Linked DNA regions of Homo sapiens: regions 2, 3, 4, 5 and 6 are each linked to region 1. Evidence: promoter capture Hi-C in 16 types of primary human blood cells and fetal thymus (Javierre and others, 2016). All regions are on one chromosome and are shown on one strand. The core of a region is centred on a gene start or on the middle of the fragment in contact, and the rest is flanking DNA. Distances in the headings are between cores, read along the strand shown.

Region 1 (3,243 bases), core at 511-3,010:
GTTGTGATCTGACAAGTTGGAAAACATTACCAGGACTTCCTGCTTCCATTTCTGACGTGGTTTCTAGGCTTGTTAGGTCTTTATGAAACAGTCGTCTTACAGTTCTGCAGCCTCTTGTGTCTTGCCACCTATAACCATCTTCATTTTCTTGAAAGGAGTCTTTTCTTTGTCGGTTTATAACAGGAATTCTAGGTCCAGGTTTGAATTCTCTCCAGTTGTCTGAATTACCAGTATGTTCATCAGACAGCCATCTCTTACTCTGATCTTTGTGGCTGTCATTCATCCAAGCGGGTTGACTGTAGATTGGGTTTTTAAATGCATATGGATTGCTGGAAACAGCACATGGTCCTTTTCTGGGGGTATTCCCATAGTTCCCTGGTGTTATCTTCTTTTTTTGAAGGCCCTTTTCCATTTTACTGCCATGGCCTTTAGCATGGTCATCTATTATTAAATAATCTTGTTGGGGGTGACCCCTTCTGAAGTCATCATCATCCATAGTCCCCCGGTCTTTAGTGCGCTTCACGAAATAAGGTTTTGCTGTATCTCCCATGGTCTTTGACTTCAATTTTCTTACTTTGCACCTGAAAGAAGGTATTTTGGGGAAATATCAAACTATATAACAAGATATCATACAAGTATACAAAATAACAATTTATCGTACAGATGCCCCAAAGCCTGTAAGAAAGAAACTCCCTATTTTTTTAAAATAAAAATTCTATCACATTCTTAATAATCAGTGCTTTACCCTAGAGGTTGGGAGGCTTGGTCCTCTAATATTCTTCATGAAAATTAATACTTACTATTTAGCATGAAGATTAAATGTGTGAATAAGAGAAGCTCTATAGGTTCCAGAACTGTAGCATAGTAGAATATTACTCATATCAAGTATGGTCGGCTTTTCCCTCTGTAACAAGGCGTTTCTCTTCAAAGAAAACCTCATCCCAAGCCAATATTATTACTAAACTACCGAAACAGTCTTTTGTTTTTTAAGTTGGCAATTACTTGTAAGTGTTATACACCGAAACTTTACGTGAAAGGAGTACTACATTTCTCAACTCCAATTTTCCGTCCCTTCACCACCCCTATTCTGGACAGACCGGCTTTGAGCGCTTAGGTTACGGAGGGGCTGGGCTTCCGACCAAGGTGCAGCTGTAATTAAAGAGGCTGGGTTTCCGATCAAGGGACAACTCCATCTAACCTCCTCAATCCCCGTTCTCCAACCCCAAACAAGTTTGGTTTTGTCAGGAACAGCAATTCCCTGAGGAATGACACTCCTCTTCAATCCCCATCTGACCGCTCCACCACCGATCTGCCTTAGTTTCCACCCTTTTGAGCCCGACGTGGAGAAAGAGGAGGCGTCCCTGCACTCCTGGCCAAGAAGCCACCGTGGGGACCAGGAAGCAGGAAGTGACCTGCTGTCTCCATGGGGTTCCAGGGTTCCCCCGGCCGGCCAGGGGGCCAGAGCCGAATGTCTTGACCCAAATCCCGTCTTCTGCGCCCGCAGTCTGACAAAAAGTGAAAACACGGACTCGAACCCGAGGGCTCAGCCTCTGCCGGCCTGGGGGTTCCTCGGTCACCCAAACTGGTGCGAGGAGGCCGGCGGGGGATGGAACCAACGTACCTCCGGGGCCAGGCCGGACAGCTACTCTGGAGTCCAGGAAACCAACTGGAGAATCAGCCCGGAGGCGAGTCTGGCAGGGACGTTGGGAGAAGGCGCCCAAGAGCACTCACCACCTTCGCCGCGGTCCCCAGCCTCTTCCTGTCCCGGCCGGGCTCCCTCTCCGTGTTTTCCTTCGGCCCCACTTCCGGCGCTCAGCGCTGTCTCATTGTGCGCGATTGGGAGCCGACTGTGCCCCCGCCCTAGCGCTCCGCCGCGCACACCGGAAACGAGCGACGCGCCCCGCCCCGCGGTGCCCCGCCCACGCTCCGACCCCGCCTCCCGCGCCTTTGCCAGCCTGGCCTCTCCTGTCCGGCGCCCCAGCGCACTCGCTCCAGGTGTCGGGCGCCGGGTCTGGCCACCGGGCGCAACCGTCGGAGCGGGCTAATTACTGGCTCGCCGGATAGCCGGTTCGCCGGCGCTTGGGGGCCAGGCCCGAACTTCTTACCAGAGCGGCGCCCGCCCCTTTTCTCTCCCGGCTTCGACGCTCCTCTGGTTCCCCTCTCTGCTCGGGAGGCTAAGTGCTCGGGAGAGGCGCGGGAGCCAAGACTTATGCACCCGGAGAGGGACGCGGAGCCAGCGGTCGGGCAAAGCCGCATTCCCCGCGCTTGGGGCCTCGGCTTTGCCCCTGGGTGCTCCCCGGTTACTTCCAGGGGGAGTAAAGGCTCCGAGGCCTCGTAGCGCTCTTGGTGTTTTTCTGATAATTCGTAGTGATTAATGTTTTCGTGAATTCTTAATTGCCGACCTTGTAGAAATGCCAGCATTTAAACATCCACTGCTCACCCAGATCTCAAAGTGGTCAAGGAAAATGCTCTGCTTTTTTCTTAGGTTGTGTAAGGATTACTTTTACTTGGAAAAAAAAAAAATCAGTTCATTTCGAAGAATATGTGTAATGGCAAGGGATGACCAGAGAGCGTTACATTCGAATTTTTGAGTTGAAGAGTGCACACCTCGAACTCGGGGTTGCTTTTTCTTTCTTTACTGTATGACCTTCCTTGCTGTTTACAGTGTTCTAAATGCTTTGAAAAACATCAAGCAACTAGTGAAATTAGGGAGCGTTGGGAAAATCGACAGTTTTCATTTCTCTGCTTTTTTAAAGCATGTAAATTGAAAGCTGTCAGGTCCTGTGGAGCAATGGTCTTAAAATAATAACACACAAAGTTCTGGCTATGCCAATAACTGTTTTGAAGGCTTTACAAATATTAACTCCTTTGTTTTATATTTTTGTAGAGACAGGGGTCTCCTATGTTGCCCAGGCTGCTCTCCAATTCCTGACCTCAAGCCATCCGCCCAACTTGGCCTCCCAAAGTGTTGGGATTACAGGGGTGGTCCACCATACCCAGCCTTAACTTCTTTAATCCTCACAGCTTCATGAAGACTATATCATTATCCCACTTTTAAAGATGAGGACATTTAGCACTTGCAGTGAAGTAAATGGCACTGCTGCAATCCAGACCCTGAATATGAGGCTGTTATTAACCATGTGGCTATACTAAAAGTGATATAAAACACATTCCTACAACTTTTATATAATTCCTTACTTAGATATTTTGATTGTGAAAATACGTGAGGATCAAACTGATAGT
Region 2 (3,243 bases), core at 517-3,016, 1.4 Mb after region 1:
TGTGACTGGTTCTCCAGAGAAGCAATGCATAAAAAGAGGAATAATCGGCCGGGCACGGTGGCTCACACCTGTAATTCCAGCACTCTGGGAGGCCAAGGCAGGCGAATCACGAGGTCAGGAGTTCAAGACCAGTCTGGTCAATATGGTGAAACCCCATCTCTACTAAAAATACAAAAATTAGCCAGGCGTGGTGGTGCGCGCCTGTAGTCCCAGCTCCTCTGGAGGCTGAGGCAGAGGAATCACTTGAACCCAGGAGGCAGACATTGCAGTGAGCTGCGATTGCGCCACTGCACTCCAGCCTGAACAACAGAGCCAGACTCCGTCTCAAAAAAAAAAAAAGAGGAATAATCTCCAAAATAGTAAACAAATTCCTGCAGACAGGAAATATAATGGTAGATACCTGAGCTAGGAGAGGGGGAATGGGGAACTATTATTCAATGGATACAGTTTCAGTTTAGGAAGATAAACAAGCTCTGGGAATAAACAGTAGTAATGGTTACACAATGTGAAGGTACTTAATGCTACTGAACTCAAAGTTGGTTAAAATGGTACTTGCTATGTGAGGTATATTTTACCACTTAAAAAACTATAGGTGATTGTGCTTCTAAAAGAGTTATCAGTTTAATCTTCAATAGAAATCAATGGACTTTGTTCATTTTTAACAAAGTCAAAATATGCATACGAAAAGGTTATGGGGTAAAGGCAGAGGTAATTATTTTTTTCCCCGAAAGGTATTTTCTACAATGAATGTTTTTATGTAATAAAAAATGAAATGACAAAAGTTTAGAATGTTTGTGGGTTTTGTTCCTTAAATCCTTAATTACATAAATTAATATCTACATTATACAGATTAAGATACATATTTTTCCTCTATCTACAACATTTCTCCATTCTCTGTATCTTAAATCCTGACATTAAATGTCATTAAATTTCTTAAATCTCAAGAGAACGACTTGGTTACCAAGGAAGATATAATCCATAGCCTAGAGAGTGGGCGAATAAAAGCAGCTTCTAATGTTCTCAACTGCTTTTCTCCTGTCAACCAAATGTTTCTGTAAATAACTCATTTCTGTTGGTTTTGGGTAAGACGTGGGAGAAGGAAGAATCCCTGAATGGAGGAGTCTGGAAAGGATGCTTGACAAAACGCCCGCGCTCTCTGGAGACGCAGCCAGTCTCCTCCCTCCTAGGGTCTGGTCTTGACGATAGCATCTCGTGTTTTGGGGATGCCTTTCCTTACCAGATTCTTCTAAAGCCCAGCTGCACCCACCCTTAAGTGGGAGATAAGGCTTCTGCCCGCGGGCTCTGCGTTCGTCCACCCGGCCCCACGTTTGCTGTGGACTAAACAGGAGCCACTGGACTAGAGTACACTTGACTCTCGGCTCTGCGGACCAAAAATTCCAGGACTAAGGAATAGCAAGGTTAGGCTGAAACAGTCCACACAGGGCTTGCGGTAAACGTCTTTTCAGGAGCCACTCGCCCAGTGCAGTAAGTCGTGTACTTAGTTGACTCGAGCGCTCCAGGGAGACGCCCGACCCTACTCTGCGCCGCCCCGGGGCACCAGCTCTGCTTCCTCCAGGTCCACTGAGGCAGGCACGCCCAGCTCTGGGACAGTCAGTAAACAAGCCACGAACCGCGCCAGGGATCAGAGCACCCAGAGTCCCCGCCCAGCTGCCGGCACAGCCAATCGCAGCGCAGCCAGGCGGCGGGGCGGTGCCGGCCGAACCCAGACCCGAGGTTTTAGAAGCAGAGTCAGGCGAAGCTGGGCCAGAACCGCGACCTCCGCAACCTTGAGCGGCATCCGTGGAGTGCGCCTGCGCAGCTACGACCGCAGCAGGAAAGCGCCGCCGGCCAGGCCCAGCTGTGGCCGGACAGGGACTGGAAGAGAGGACGCGGTCGAGTAGGTGTGCACCAGCCCTGGCAACGAGAGCGTCTACCCCGAACTCTGCTGGCCTTGAGGTGGGGAAGCCGGGGAGGGCAGTTGAGGACCCCGCGGAGGCGCGTGACTGGTTGAGCGGGCAGGCCAGCCTCCGAGCCGGGTGGACACAGGTACCGCAGCCAGGCCGCGCCGCGCCGACTCAGGGCCTGGCCCGGCCAGACAGGGAAGCTCAGTCCCCGCACGCCAGACAGCGGTACTCCTGCTGGCGTCACCGCAAACATCCTCTGACCGCTACAGCCAGTGTGTGGCGCAGGCGTCATGTCCCCGGCCCTGCCACGCCTGGAGCCCTGGAAGCTGGCTGCAGGGCGCTGGCTTCCCGCGTGCGGCCATATGACCCCGTCCCTGATTTAGGGGAGCAGTTTGGGGTGTCGGCAGCACAGGCCCAAGTGAATGAAGGAGGGAGCAGTGCGTGCTCTCCTTCCCAGTTTTTCCTGGGAAAGCATTTCAGAAAGGTTTCATTTAAGGAGAGGTTGGGGCGGCGCGGTGGCTCACTCCTGTAATCCCAGCACTTTGGGAGGCTGAGGTGGGCGGATCACCTGAGGTCAGTAGTTCGAGACCAGCCTGGCCAACATGGTGAAACCCCGTCTCTACTGAAAATACAAAATTAGACGGGCGAGGCGGCGCACGCCTGTAGTTCCAGCTATTCAAGAGGCTGAGGAAGAATGGCTTGAACCCGGGAGGCAGAGGTTGCTGTGAGCCGATATCGCGCCGTTGAACTCCAGCCTGGGCCACAGAGCAAGACTCCATCTCAAAAAATAAATAAATAAATAAATAAATAAATAAATAAATAAATAGGAGAGATTGGAAAACTTATCTCAGCTTTTGGTGTTTGTTAGTCAGGAAGATGTGTGAAGGCCTCCTAACTCTTGGGGATCTCTTTGTCCCTACTTGGGAATCCCACCTTATCATTAGTGAGGTTTTGCCTGGGCACGAAACCTGGATTTTTTGCGATTGGTACAAAACCTGGATCAACCGTTTCCCGGTTTCCTAGTTGTTGCCTTAAGCTTCTCACACACAAGGTAGTTTCATACCGTTCTCATAACCTAAATTGTCATCGCATAAACTGTTTCAGCTCCTACAGCTCTGGACAGGCTGCTTTTCATTTTGGTGAGTCCATCCAGTACCTCCACGTGCCCTGTTTTTCTCCAGGCACATCCTTGGCCTCTTCCACAGTCCTTGGGTAAATGCTTGGGAGAATAATTTAAATATTTTTATTCTACCATGGTGGCCCTAATTTTTCAGGGGGCAGTAAGATGGCTTTTTAGGATTGGTCTAATCAGATCCTCATTTTTGTTCCCTTCCTAGGT
Region 3 (3,243 bases), core at 246-2,745, 1.3 Mb after region 1:
ACCCAGGCTGGCCTCAAGCTCCTGCACTCAAGCGCTTCTCCTGCGTCAGCCTCCTGAGTAGGTGGGACTGGGGTGTAAGCCACTGGGCCCAGCTCAGAATTGACTTTTTGGTTTTTTTCTTGAGACAGGGTCTCATTCTGTCACCCAGGCTGGAATGCAGTGGTGCAATCATAGCTCACTGCAGCCTTGAACTCCCGGGCTCGAGTGATTCTCCCACTTCTGCCTCCTGAGTAGCTGGGATTACAGGTGTGTGGCACCACACTCAGCTATTTTTTATTTTTTGTAGCTTCAGTGTCATTTTGTTGCTCAGGCTGGTCTCGACCTCCTGGGCTTATGCAGCCCTCTCACCCTGTCCTCCCAAGTTGCTGGAATTACAGTTGTGAGCCACAACGCCCAGCCAGAATTTCAATTTTTCCTTTTTTCCTAACCTTGAAAGCCAGAATTTCCATTTTTAACAGATTCCCGGGTGATGCGGATGCTGCTGGTCTGGGTTCATCTTTTGAGAGGCTGTGCTCCCCAAAAAGGATATGTTGAAGTGCTATGTCCCTGTCTTAGTTCATTTTGGGTTTTGCAATAACAAGACCACAGACTGGGTAATTTATAGAGAAAATAAGTTTATGTCTTACAGTGCTGGAGGCAGGAAGTACATTTTGCTGCATGTGATGTGAGTCTTCTTACTGTCATAACATGGCAAAAGGCATCGCGTGGCAAGAGAGGGCAAGAGCCCACTCCCAGGAGCCCTTTTTTAAAGGTACTAAACTGACCCATGAAGGTGGAGGAGCCCTTATGGCCTAAATTTCTTCTTAAAGTCCCTACCTCTCAACACTCTTACAATGGCAATTAAATCTCAACTTGAGTTTTGGAGAGGACAAACATTCAAACCGTAGCACCATAGTATCTCAGAACATGACCTTTTTGGATATGAGATTGTTTTAGATGTAATTAGTTAAGATGAGGTCATACTGGAATAGCACAGAGAACCTAATCTGATAGGACTGGTGTCCTTATAAGAAGGCCCTGTGGAGACAGAGGAATGGAGTGAAGCATCTATACGCCAAGGAACCTGCCAGAAACTAGGACAGAGGCATGGAGCAGATTCATCCTCAGATCCCTTAGAAGGACCATCCCTACCAACGTACTGAGTTAGGACTGCCAGCCCCCAAAACTATGTGATAGCAGGTTGTTGTTTTAAACCACCCCATGTGTGGTCCTTTGTTAGGGCAGGCCTAGGAAACTAACACAGAGGCACCAGTTAACAGAAACTAGATTTCCTGGACTGGGAGCCTACTCGCATGTTGATCTAAAATTCTATAAGCAAGTTAGAAACAAAACAAAACATAATGCCTAATTATGGTAATGCCATCAGGTAACTGCAAAATGACGCAATACATACATCTCACTCCCTGCAGATAGCCTGAGCAGAGAAGGATTGGAGCGGGGGTGGGGGTTTGGAGTCTAACATAAGATAAGGAAGAAATGGACATCACCAGGTTCTGGCCTGCTTCAGGATGGTCACCTGAGTAGCTCTGGATCACATGTCTGAAAGGTTACCATGTTAAGAATTATAAAGTAAAAGTGCTAAGATGGCCAAGTAAGTATTGGCATGGTGGATTGTTCCAGAGAAATCAAGCCAGTTTGGTTCTCCAATCCTAAATGTCTCCCCTTATTTGTTCTGCTTCCATTTCGAAGCACATCTTTAAAACAGAGTAACCCCATTTAGCTTTCTCTCTCTTTCTTTGTGACAGGAAATTCCATTTAATTAGTGCAGTCTGCTATGGTTGTAGCCAAGTGCAGGGCGTGGAGTGAATAATGCATTTTTTATATTTAAAAAGGTAAATTTTGCTGATTTTTTTAATCATGGTAAAACAACATACAGTTTACCATCTTAACCATTTTTAAGTGCACAGTACAGCAGTGTTAATTCTATGCATATTGTTGTGCAACAGATTTCTAGAACCTTTTCGTCTTGCAAAACTGAAATGCTGTGCCTATTGAACAACTCCTTTTTAGCTCTGTGTTTTACTTTGGCTAAGTTAATAATTTCTGGAATTCAGTTTGCCCATCACAAACAACTGCTAAGTTGTATTCAAACATTTGTGCAATATTAGGTCACTTTATGTAGGATCACGGTTCAGTTGGCTCACTCTCTCATAACCAAACTGAGATGCAAAATAATCAGAATACAAATACAACTTTGTTTTTCATTGTATGTCAGCGTGGTGCATGTATGTAGACGAACACATGGTGCCTTGGTCAGCAAGATCAGAATCGCAAGAGCCTTTGAAGAAACACATGCAGTGATTAAAGTGATAGTTTCAAAGGATCTTAAAAGTGGCAAAAATTGTACAGAGCTGAATGTGGTGGTCGGGACTTAGGGAAGCTGATAAATGGGGTGTGTGGCACAGAGCCCTTCAGTCTCCCTGTCTCTGCTTCTCTCTGGGCGCTCACGAACCACAATAGCACACACTCAGACTTCCTCAATGCGTTCTTTTGCTGCCACATTTGTTCTCTCTTTTCTGAGCTCGAGCCAGCTCTTTTGACTTTTTGAACTTTTGTCTTTATTCACAAAGGTAATTTCAAGAGCTCTTGTGGGTTCCACTTCTGGCATCCCGCTCCTCAGATACCTACTATTAGGCAAGAGCAGAGAAGTAAAGTGCATTTGGCAGCAGTCTCTGCCTTTCAAAGCAGAGCTAAATCATGTAAAATAGGTTATTTTCCATCCAGGCATTCTCTTGAGAAAGAAAACCCTGTGTGTGTCTTCCCCCATACTCTCACTTCTTGCCAGTTCAGTTGAAAAGTGTTCCCTTAATGTTATTAAATAGGTATTTTCACTCACTGAAGTGGATTATTTGATTTCTGCACGGTCTTAAGAAAAAGTGAGACAATAGGAGTCTTACAAACAAACCCTATGTGGTATCTGTGAGCTCATAGATCTGTAGTTTTTAGGATATAGTCATAACTTTAGTATCTGCCATGATGTTCTCCATGCTGAATACATGAGCTATAAGTAATATTTGGAATCTCTGTTTATCTCCAAGAAAGACCCATGATCGTGGTTAAAGTTTGGGAAACTGAGGCAATGCTGCTTAGTCACAGCTCCAGGCAGGTGACTATTCTTAGACTCCTTCCCAGGGACTAGACTCTTCTGCATCACTCTCTGGGGTGGTGCAGGTCCTGCAAATTGTTCATACTTCCTCTTAGAAACTCTCCCTGATCTCATATCTTCTTCTTCCTGTTTTGGCC
Region 4 (3,243 bases), core at 448-2,947, 1.2 Mb after region 1:
GTCTCGAATATGTACTCAAATGAGCTGTGTAGTAGGCCATCTGCTGTCTCCTCGACTCAGCTGATAGGCCCTGGAAAAGGGAAATCCTGCCAAAATGCAAATATCCTACTTAACTGATAATATAGGGAGAGGAGATACAGGCTGTGGGGGAATGGGGGTAGGGAAGGGAATGGGGCGTGGGGAAGAAATAAGTGACTGTCTTCACCCTTCCTCGATGTCTTTCCATCCTCCTGTGTTTCTTCCTGTTAGAGAAAGACCAGGTGTGGATCAGTAGACCCCGCTCACAATTGGAGTTGCGGGGTCAGACTGGAAGTAGCCAGGGAATTAGGCTCGGTTGTGAGGATGCTTTTTGTAGCCTCTTCATTTGAATTCAAGAACCTATAGCCTCTTGGTTTCCACTGGCACGCTTGCCATGGTAGGAGCCCTTGTTAGGATTAAGCTTTTCTCAGTGCTGGAGATGGAGTTGTTGCACTCATAGGGCTACCACCTGGATTCCTCAGATTGCCTCCGAATGAGTCTGTGAGCCCCACCCCACCGGACCTCCCTCCATGGCGTCCCTCCCAAGCATGACTCAAGGGTTCTGAGTTGCTGTGTTGAATGGATTGGCTAGCGATCGTTTCCATGGGCATACTGCTCCATCATTTCCAAATGCTTTCGTGTTCACTTTCAGTTTCTTTTAATATTTATAGACACCCCAAAAAGGCTGCCACTATTCAGTTGAAATGGTAATGCTAAGGAAACTAAGGCTCCAAGAAGACGGTCCAAGGTCTCATGGCTAAATGAGTAGAAGACCAAAACTGTGATTACAAAGCTGTCACCAGCTCTGCCCCTTTAGGGTGAGTTACTGATGAAAGAAGAGTTGGCTCTGCAGACAGCAGTGAGGAGGAGTGAAGCCACCCAGGCATAAGGCACCGGGGAGCTGCGGGCCTGTGTCCAGCTGGAGCGCACGGGGCCATCTGAAGGGGCAGTCGCTATGCATTGGGCGCTGACTGCCTGCAGGCCGTGGGCCAACGCTGCCAGCTCTTCCAAGTCTTCATGCATTGCTGGGAATCAGAGTTTTAAAATATTGACAGTGGATTCAGTTCTTTTCAAAACACTGTGCCCATTGCTCTGGATCAAACAGACACCATCCCACACAACACTCCAGTTGTGATCAGTGGATTAAAGCAACACTCCTTGGTGAATAGGCTTCTTTTGATGGTACTTGCATTTGAAAAGAGTTTTGTTGAAGCAATTTAGCTTCTAATTAATGCATTCTGTGGGGGAGATGTTTTTTCATGGAGTCATCTTCTTGTGCCTGCTCTGGGTCCCCCAGCTTCAAGGAATGTTGGCTAAAGAGAGTGGGAAGGTGGGATGCAGTGTGGGTGGCGTCACCTTGCAGCCTGACCGTGCCTCCTCCGTCCTCTCTGCACAAGGTGACAACCCACTAGGATATGGAAGGGGAAGGCTGTCACATGTACCTTGTGTGATGCACCCAAGTTATTACAAATCATTTTCTAAAAATCCTTGCAGAGTGGGTAATGGGTCTCTGAGCCATATAGTGTTGGGGCTGTTGCAAAACTGGTCCACTTCCAAATTGCAGGCCTTGATCATTTACTCCCTGGGTGGGAAAGGGGAGCTCTCCACAGTAAAGAACTCATTTCTTGTCCTCAGATGTGTGGTGGTCTGATGTGATGAGCAGACTTTATACTGAGAAAGGAATTTTAGAGGAATACAGAATCCAGCTAACTTAGTAGGAGTGATTAAAAAATACTGGAGGTGTGGGGCGAGGCAGATTCTCTTGATAGAGGAAATTCTCCAGGTCACGTGTGTTTTTTTAATAAGTAGCATCCCTTTGCATTAACCTCAGTGGTTCTCAGCCTTGGCTGGTTGGGGAATCCCTCTGAACTTTAAACACTGCCTGTACTTGGGCTCAGCCTCAGAGATTAGGACTTAATTGGTGTGGAGTCTGGTGAGGGCATCTGGACTTTCAACAGCTCCCCTCCCCCACTGACGATGGTTGAGAATTACTACTCCAGTCTGTGAGTTTTAGAGTTCACTGTGCATCAGAAGCACCCAGGAGCTCTTTAAAATGCAGGTTGCTGGGCTTTGCCCCATGGACTGAATCCAGAGTTCACGGGGGAGCCCAGGAACCTGTATTTTTCAAAGCTCTACCTCCAGCGAGACTCAGGTGATCATTGACTTATGTGCTTCATCGCAGGTGCCCATATAGAAATACGCAGATAGGTTATTTCAATTTGCAATTAATACATATAAATACTTTAGTGTCCTACTTTTGACAAGCAGTTGGATGGAAAATCGATCTTTTGAAATGGATGTCAGTTTAGGCTCAAAACGTGTGATTACCTAAGTTCTCACTGCTGGAGAATTCAAGCTGATAGGCCATGTTTTTCAAAGGAAGTGGGTGCAGAACTGGATCCTGTCAGTGTCAATGCGGGTGCATCCGGGTGTGTAGCAGTGCCTTTTGGTTAAACCCAGGCTTTCCCTACGAGAGGTCTTCCAGTCCATTAATCTTGTGTTAAGTTTCTTGGCTGGAAGGGTGGTTTATAGAAGTGGTGCCAAACAGCTGTAAATGCAAGGCTGAGAACTATTTGTCCTCTTCCTTTATTTTTAAGACTTCAGAAAACAACTTTCACTAAATTGGTAAATAAAGTTTTAGGTATTATTTTCTGATTAATGAAATCACCATAAACTACTACTTCTAGACTTCCGAATGTCATGATTTTATTTCTGGTCTTATTATATTTGTGTTTCTGAGTCTTAATGAGCTAGAAATGCTTATAAGACAAAAGCAATGTGTGTTTTTTCCTGCATCAGATTCTTTTACACCTTATCTTGAAGTTTGCATAACTGAGTCACTTTCTATTTTTTTTTAATCACTTTGATAAGAGAAAAATTTATGTTAGTTGCAGTCCAGGAAAAAGAAGGCACAAACACTGCTGATCAAATATTACTAAAGCTTTTATGGACTCTTGAACCTCATTTTCCCTCCCATATGTACACAAGACACACTTCATTCTTACTCTGTTTATGCCTCTCTGTCTAATAGAAACTTCACTTCTGACTCCAGCTTTGTCTAATTATTAACACAGAGAGGTACTAGAAGTTGTCCATTAGCAAAGAAGAGAAAAATTATGTTTAGGGAACTAATTTTATAACAGCTTAAAATGGCTTTGATGTAAATCTGCCAGATGCCTCTTTTTATATCATCAAATACTTTGCTTTACCTTGAAGAATATTACC
Region 5 (3,243 bases), core at 261-2,760, 1.2 Mb after region 1:
ATGCAGACAGCCACCCCATGGGAAGAATCAGGGGAGAAGGGGCACAAGACCCCAGAAGTCTGACAACATGTAAAACCCCAAGTCAAAATGTTAAACCGCGTACTTGATCTCTCAAGTCGCCTCCTGGGCCCTCTTCCAAGTGTACTTTACTTCCTTTCATTTCTGCTCTAGCGCTTTTCAATAAGCTTTCACTCCTGCTCTAAAACTTGCCTCAGTCTCTTCTGCCTTAGGCCCCCTTGGTCGAATTCTTTCTTTTGAGGAGAAAAGAATTGAGGTTGCTGCAGACCCATACAGATTCGCTTCCAGTAACACTAGTACCTAGTAGTTTCTAAGGTATTTCTAACGTGATCTTACTAATTTATCTTTTAAATTAAAAATTAAGGGTATCATTTATTCTGTGACTCTTTGAGGAGATTTGGTGTCTGTTTTATCCTGAGCATCTACAACAGTGCCTGACACATAGTAGATGCTCAGTAAAAAGTTATGGAGTGTATACCACATGCTCTGGGGGATATATGGCACAGTCTTTGGATTATCAGTTTGTGTTTATTTCTTGGCTGCAAAGGTGGAGGGAAGGCCCAGGTTGCACAGGAGGGGACAGAGCTTTAACAGTACGTGGAATGCAGTGGACGTGCCTTTATCTGCAAGGACCCTTGACTGCATTGAGGCTGCCTGGAGCAAAGAAGCCACCAGACCCAAGGGGCTCAGGCTAGGCTGGGAGAATGCCAGGAGGCGAGTCCCTGTCACCTGCCCCTAGAACAGGTCAGACCTGTTCTGTTGTTCTGTGGTCATCTGCTCTAAATTTCCTCCTACTCACCTCTGGGCCTTTAAATTTGGGATTCATAAGAATGCTTGGTGCAGAGGAGGAGCTGATGCCTCCCTAACTTCCCTAATGCCGCCCGCCCAAGCTTCTCAGAACCCCTGCTTCCTCATTAAGATAATGAGAACTTCCTTAGATATCTGTGCAGACGAAATGAGAGAATGTGCCTAAGTCCTCAACGCAGTCCTGTTTTTATTATTTAGGCTTTCCCCCTCTGGGATTTGGAATGGAAAAAGCACAGCCTAATCTTGCCCCTCTCTTTTCCCCAGTGAGAACTTATATGGTTCCCATTATGTTCTATTGTTATTATTCCACTATTTTCCAGAATGTGAGGAATAAGCTGACCCTGAGCCTGCCACTTTGATTTGGTCGTCAGAAGTCCTGGGGAAGCAGTTGAGAGATCTTGTAACTTTTAGTATTAATCTCAAAGACACTGCCTAACCAACACAGGCTGTATTACCAGTTCCTACATCTAGCCCTCTGTAGGGTAGCTTGATTTTAAATGTGCAAGTTAATTTCAAGTCTGTTTTGTAAGGGGAATTTATATTAAGCACATTAACAACCTCAGTGTCTCCAAGGGTCAAATCTTATGTCTACTTTCCTTAACCCGTTTTGAAATTGGAAGAGGAAGTTAATATGCAGTCCCATGCACTCCCTTTTAGATTTAATAATGGATGAAAAGTTCTTTTATCCACTGTACTTCTTCAGAAATTTCAGAATAATTTCTTTCTGTTTGAAGAATATGAAGTTAGTTCTTTAAAAAGAGAGACATGCTATTTAATTTTTAAACCCCACCATCTAGGGAATTCTGACATTATGGGACAGACTGAGCCGATTTCCCTTTGTGACATTGGGGTTTCATGTGCTGGAGCCACATGAGGGATGCACAGAGGGGAGCCTTCTTGTCGCAGGTGGGAACAAACATCCAAAGAAACCCCCAAGGGCCCCTTTGAAGGTCATCCTCACTGGAACAAAGGTAGTCACTGGGGCCAGACCAGTGACCTCTCCATATTCATGCAGGTCTCTTCTTCAAAGATTTTAAGTAACTTCCTTTCCCAGGGGGATGGAGCAGCTGTGAGCCGAGCATTAGCGCCAGGCCTTTTAAAAACAGACCAGTGAATTCAGGAAATGCTTACCCTTTGGATAGTCAAGTGGAAGCATGGATATATTTTAAAGTATCTATCTAATTCCTTCTCTGGAGTGAGAAGGGGTTAGGGGGAGAGATCTAGGTCAAAAATATTATTTAAGGATAAAATGCTCTGATCATTGCATTGTTGCACGCAGTGGGCTCAGCAAGCTTTTCGTTTCCACTGCAGTGTGGGTCATAGCTTGTGCGTGAGTCCCCTCTGACTAGAGGGCTGGTCTATCCATACCCGATGTTCACTGCCAGTAGCTGGCTGGAGTTCATTACTGGTGCCACCAGCCTCAGGCCTGGTCGTTCAAAGAAGAAACAATATTTGAAAATGGACGTGATTTTTCCCTTGGGGCTTTCCTGTGTTTTCTTCATAGAGTATACTTTGTAATTTGGGGAACCAGAATAAATAGAAAGAAGAATAGTTAGGACAGTGAGTCCATCTGAAGCCTTTGTAGGTGGTGAAGGGAGAAGTTGGGGGTAAGAGGGCATTCACTGCACAGCAAAGACTGGCGTGTCTCAGACTGGTGCAAACCTGTGCTGCAATATTGACCTGAGGATGAGTAGAAAAAGGCAGAGGAGCTGTCACTTCAGTGTAATGTTGAGAAAAAACAGTCCTCTCCCCAGTGTAGGGCATTGAACTGTCACAACCAGAATTATGCCCAGGATTTCATACAGGTGCTGTCTATTGTACATAGCTTAAAAAGCTGGTTGCCTGAAAGTTCAATTATTGTGTCTTATTGTTTCCTGTGAACATAAAGGAATGTCCACAGAATATTAGAGAATATTGGAATGCAGGAAGAGAGGCAAGTCTGAGAGGTGGGGATGAGTTCAGAGAAATCCCCAGGGGCCTCCTTATTGTGCAGTAGTTTTCCCTCCATGTGCCCCCTGGGCTGATATTAATGTGTTCTAGGAAATGCTTAATGCTTATGGGCCTGACTCTTGGTTTTGCCTTTTAAGAGGCATCATCATTACTAACAAACACGTTCCTGAACAGGCCTTAGTGCTAAGCTAGGCTCGATCTCTTCTTTCTGGCCAAATTGGGATTAATGCCACTCTTTGATTTCCTCATGTTGGCAATCACACAGTGCCATGATTAACTGGTGCCACACATTGCCAAGGCCCTATGGTTTACTTCAAGGGTCAGTAAACTGTAACTCCAAGGCCAAATCTGGCCCACTGTGTTTTTATAGAGTCCTTCTGCTAAGAATTGTTTTTACATTTTTAAATGATTGGAAAAGATTTTTAAAAAGAACAGTATTTTGTGCCACATGAAAATGATATGAGATTC
Region 6 (3,243 bases), core at 394-2,893, 1.1 Mb after region 1:
AAATACATAAAAATAAATAAATAAAAAATAAAAACACTGTACCGACCCATGTGGAAACGGCCAAGCAGAACTCAGACGCAGGGAGCATATAGAGCTGTGACCTTGGGGCACACAAAGTTATGGCCTCATTCCACCATGGAGCAGATACAGCCCTCAGGCACGAACTGGGACAGACATGAAAATCTATAAAATGTGTCCTGCCCTCCAGTATCTTCCTATCCTGGAGGGTAAATGATGCATACAACTAATGTTTTCACGCAAAGTAAAAAACAATAATAAATAAATATATAATCATCACAATAATAAATAAGCAGGTGGCATGTAATTATCAGGGCACTGTAGAGAAACAGAAGCAGCAGCAGATAAGAAAAGTTTTATTTATTTTAAGGAATTGGCTCATGCAATTGTGGAGGCTGCTGTGTTTGTAATTTACAGGGCAGGCCGGCAGGCTGGAAACTCAGGGAGGGGTTGACACCGCAGTCCTGAGGCAGAATTTCTTCTTTTCCTAGAAACTCCAGTTTTTGCTCTTAGGACTTTCAACAGACTAGATGAGGCTCACTCATGTCATCCAGGAAAATCTCCTTTACTTAAAGTCAACTTATTAGGCCGGGCACGGTGGCTCATGCCTGTAATCCCAGCTCTTTGGAAGGCCGAGGCGGGTGGATCACGAGGTCAAGAGATCGAGACCATCCTGGCTAACACGGTGAAACCCCGTCTCCACTAAAAATACAAAAAATTCTCTGGGTGTGGTGGCGGGCGCCTGTAGTCCCAGCTACTCGGGAGGCTGAGGCAGGAGAATGGCGTGAGCCCGGGAGGCAGAGCAATGCAGCGAGCCGAGATTGTGCCACTGTACTCCAGCCTGGGTGACAGAGTGAGACTCCGACTCAAAAAAAAAAAAAATCAACTTATTGTAGGTGTTCACCTCATCTACAAGCTACCTTCATGGCAACACCTAGATAAGTGTTTGAGTAACTGGATACTGTGGCCCAGCAAAGCCGACACATAAAAATAACTACTCCACGGGAACAGTGCTGTCAGAGAGGTGCAAAAAACCACTGCAGGAGTTCAGGAGAATGAAAAGTCAAGGAAACTTAGATGGTTGAAAACAATCCCCATGATAAAAGAGCAAAGAAATAAAGCCTTCTCAATAGAGAAGACCAAAAAGAAATAATACTGATTAACAGTAGCCAAGCACATGTACGCTGTCATATAGTCTTTCTTTCTTTTCTTTTTTTTTTTTTTGAGACAGAGTCTTGCTGTGTTGCCCAGGCTGGAGTACAGTGGCACAGTCTCAGCTCATTGTAACCTCTGCCTCCTGGATTCAAGCGATTCTCCTGCCTCTGCCTCCTGAGTACCTGGGATTACAGGTGCCTGCCACCACACCTGGCTGATTTTTGTATTTTCAGTAGAGATGGGGTTTCACCATGTTGGCCAGGCTGGTCTCAAACTCCTGACTTCAGGTGATCCACCTGCCTCGGCCTCCCAAAATGCTGGGATTACAGGTGTGAGCCACCGTGCCCGGCCTATTATTTATTTTTAATCATCTCAACTACCCTAATGGGGCAGGAACTATCATTCTCCCCACTTTATAGATAAAGACAACTGACCCCAGTGTTTCCAATGTCACACAACTGTGATAGAAATGGAACTCAAATTCAGGCAGTGTGAAATCTCCAGATGGCCCTACTCATACTTCCCTAATGAACGCATACATGACCTCATTAATTCTAATAAAGGCCCCATGAGATAGGTATCATTATCCCCTCTTACTCATTTGTAAGGTGACAGCACTGGGATTTGAACCTGGCTTATCTGACTCTAAACTTATGCTCTGTCCACCCCAGCATGTGGCATGCCTCCGGCCTTGCTCCAAACATACCAAGGAGAATGTGTCAAGGGGTCTAGTTTATGTTCAGATGCAACCTCCGAGTGGAATGCAGCTTAATTTCAAGCAGTAAAAAATGTTGGTAGAATAGTAGAAGTAACTTCTTGGTTGTCCATCAGGGAAATGCACACATCAACTGGAGAAAGAAACGTTTATCCTTGGAGAACTTGACTGCTTTGAACATTAGCCTCCCCAAAGACCAAGATAAGGTTATAATCATTGAATGGGAATGTGTATTGAGACTGTGAATTTTGGTTATTGATTGGCAAGAATAAAAACACAGCACTTTCCACCCACACAGAAAACAACACCAAAGTTGGCTTCTCTTAAATGAAAATATTTCCTTGGCTTTCTCTTAGCTACATATTTTTAGCAAAAATTAAATATACACTGCAAATCATGTCTTCTTTTCTTGGGTAGGGAATAGACTCATTTCAATCTAACTTCAAAGGAGCAACCAGAAGACTTTTCTTTCCCCGACCACTTTGAAATACTCCTACACTATTTTATCCTTTTCTCTCAGTGAGTTATTTTTTTCCTCTCAGAACGTAGAGTATGTGAGAAATCTGTACTGTTCTATTTTTGCTGAGGAATGAATTCTGAGCTCACTTTGAGCTCATAAAATTGTCATCTATTCACTTGTTATCTCTTCTCTAGACCTTCCTGCTAGAGTCAATGCCAGGTCTATCTCCCTTCTATGATCATGATGATAACAGGAAATATAGCATAATCATTTAGCAATTGTTTAAAATTAAATGATGCCCTTTCATTGTCATTATTTTTATCTTAATTATATCTCCACAATATATAACAGTAATCATCCAGTTCCTCATAATTTTATATGATGGGCATGATATTGCAAATCAGATCATAAAAATAAAATCTATATTCATTGTATGCCAGGCTCCAGGCTATACAGACATTTAAAACTCACAAAAACCCTATGAGGTAGATACTAATATCCTCATTTTTCTAAGGAGGAAACTGAGGTATAGGTAATTTCAGTAATTTGCTCATGTTTATACAGGAAGGGAGCCGAAATGTAAAATGAAGCATCCTGCCCGCAAAGACAGTTTGTGGCCATAACAGTGTGTACAACTCCCACTAAATAATTGTGAGGTTTCATTTTCTTGTTTTTCTCTTTCTTCTTGGAAGTTCAAAACTACATTTTATGGAGGCAGAACAAATAAACACAAATATTCCATAGGGAAACACTGTGGATAAATAGGCCTTGTCTGTCATTCAGGATAGGTGCCAGTCAAAAGGTGAGCTATGAATCTACTCCCTAGAATAAGCTACAGAGTGGAAGGTGAAAGTTCAGGAGGCTCTTCACCAAAACTACCTGACTTTAAAACCCT

What was found. Contacts are between HindIII fragments. The CHiCAGO score rates a contact against its expected background, and 5 or more counts as called.
Region 2: the fragment with the promoter of CTSL here is called in contact with the fragment with the promoter of TUT7 in region 1 in 1 of 17 cell types (monocytes); the score reaches 6.5 in monocytes.
Region 3: a fragment that was not itself captured here is called in contact with the fragment with the promoter of TUT7 in region 1 in 4 of 17 cell types (monocytes, M1 macrophages, M0 macrophages and 1 more); the score reaches 8.6 in monocytes.
Region 4: a contact is called between a fragment that was not itself captured here and the fragment with the promoter of TUT7 in region 1, in 1 of 17 cell types (M0 macrophages). The highest score is 6.8, in M0 macrophages.
Region 5: a contact is called between a fragment that was not itself captured here and the fragment with the promoter of TUT7 in region 1, in 3 of 17 cell types (M2 macrophages, M0 macrophages and M1 macrophages). The highest score is 12.5, in M2 macrophages.
Region 6: a fragment that was not itself captured here is called in contact with the fragment with the promoter of TUT7 in region 1 in 1 of 17 cell types (M1 macrophages); the score reaches 5.5 in M1 macrophages.

The regions. Positions count from the first base shown.
Region 1 is chr9:86,352,650-86,355,892 of GRCh38, forward strand. TUT7 (terminal uridylyl transferase 7) reads right to left here and starts at 1,761. Exons shown (of 27, transcript NM_024617.4): 1 at 1,622-1,761; 2 at 31-581. The coding sequence starts at 550. RefSeq lists an enhancer at 1,610-1,819 and a silencer at 1,840-2,019. The HindIII fragment of the contact is 6,298 bases long and covers 1-3,243 here.
Region 2 is chr9:87,724,353-87,727,595 of GRCh38, forward strand. It overlaps CTSL (cathepsin L), which reads left to right and starts at 1,767. Exons shown (of 8, transcript NM_001912.5): 1 at 1,767-2,046; 2 at 3,242-3,243. RefSeq lists promoters at 1-1,840, 191-1,812, 295-1,840, 307-1,739, 509-1,840 and 7 more, cis regulatory regions at 756-758, 824-826, 983-1,170, 1,168-1,175, 1,247-1,397 and 12 more and an enhancer at 1,558-2,079. The HindIII fragment of the contact is 5,945 bases long and covers 1-2,938 here.
Region 3 is chr9:87,611,356-87,614,598 of GRCh38, forward strand. The region is part of intron 3 of DAPK1 (death associated protein kinase 1); the gene reads left to right. Among named protein-coding and RNA genes, the nearest start is that of DAPK1-IT1, 60 kb to the left of the region's middle. The HindIII fragment of the contact is 6,433 bases long and covers 1-3,243 here.
Region 4 is chr9:87,567,238-87,570,480 of GRCh38, forward strand. The region is part of intron 2 of DAPK1 (death associated protein kinase 1); the gene reads left to right. Among named protein-coding and RNA genes, the nearest start is that of DAPK1-IT1, 15 kb to the left of the region's middle. RefSeq lists enhancers at 951-1,120, 2,902-3,071. The HindIII fragment of the contact is 2,520 bases long and covers 438-2,957 here.
Region 5 is chr9:87,529,064-87,532,306 of GRCh38, forward strand. All of the region lies in intron 2 of DAPK1 (death associated protein kinase 1), which reads left to right. Among named protein-coding and RNA genes, the nearest start is that of DAPK1-IT1, 23 kb to the right of the region's middle. RefSeq lists an enhancer at 1,252-2,234. The HindIII fragment of the contact is 1,209 bases long and covers 907-2,115 here.
Region 6 is chr9:87,473,245-87,476,487 of GRCh38, forward strand. No RefSeq gene overlaps it. Among named protein-coding and RNA genes, the nearest start is that of DAPK1, 23 kb to the right of the region's middle. The HindIII fragment of the contact is 6,160 bases long and covers 1-3,243 here.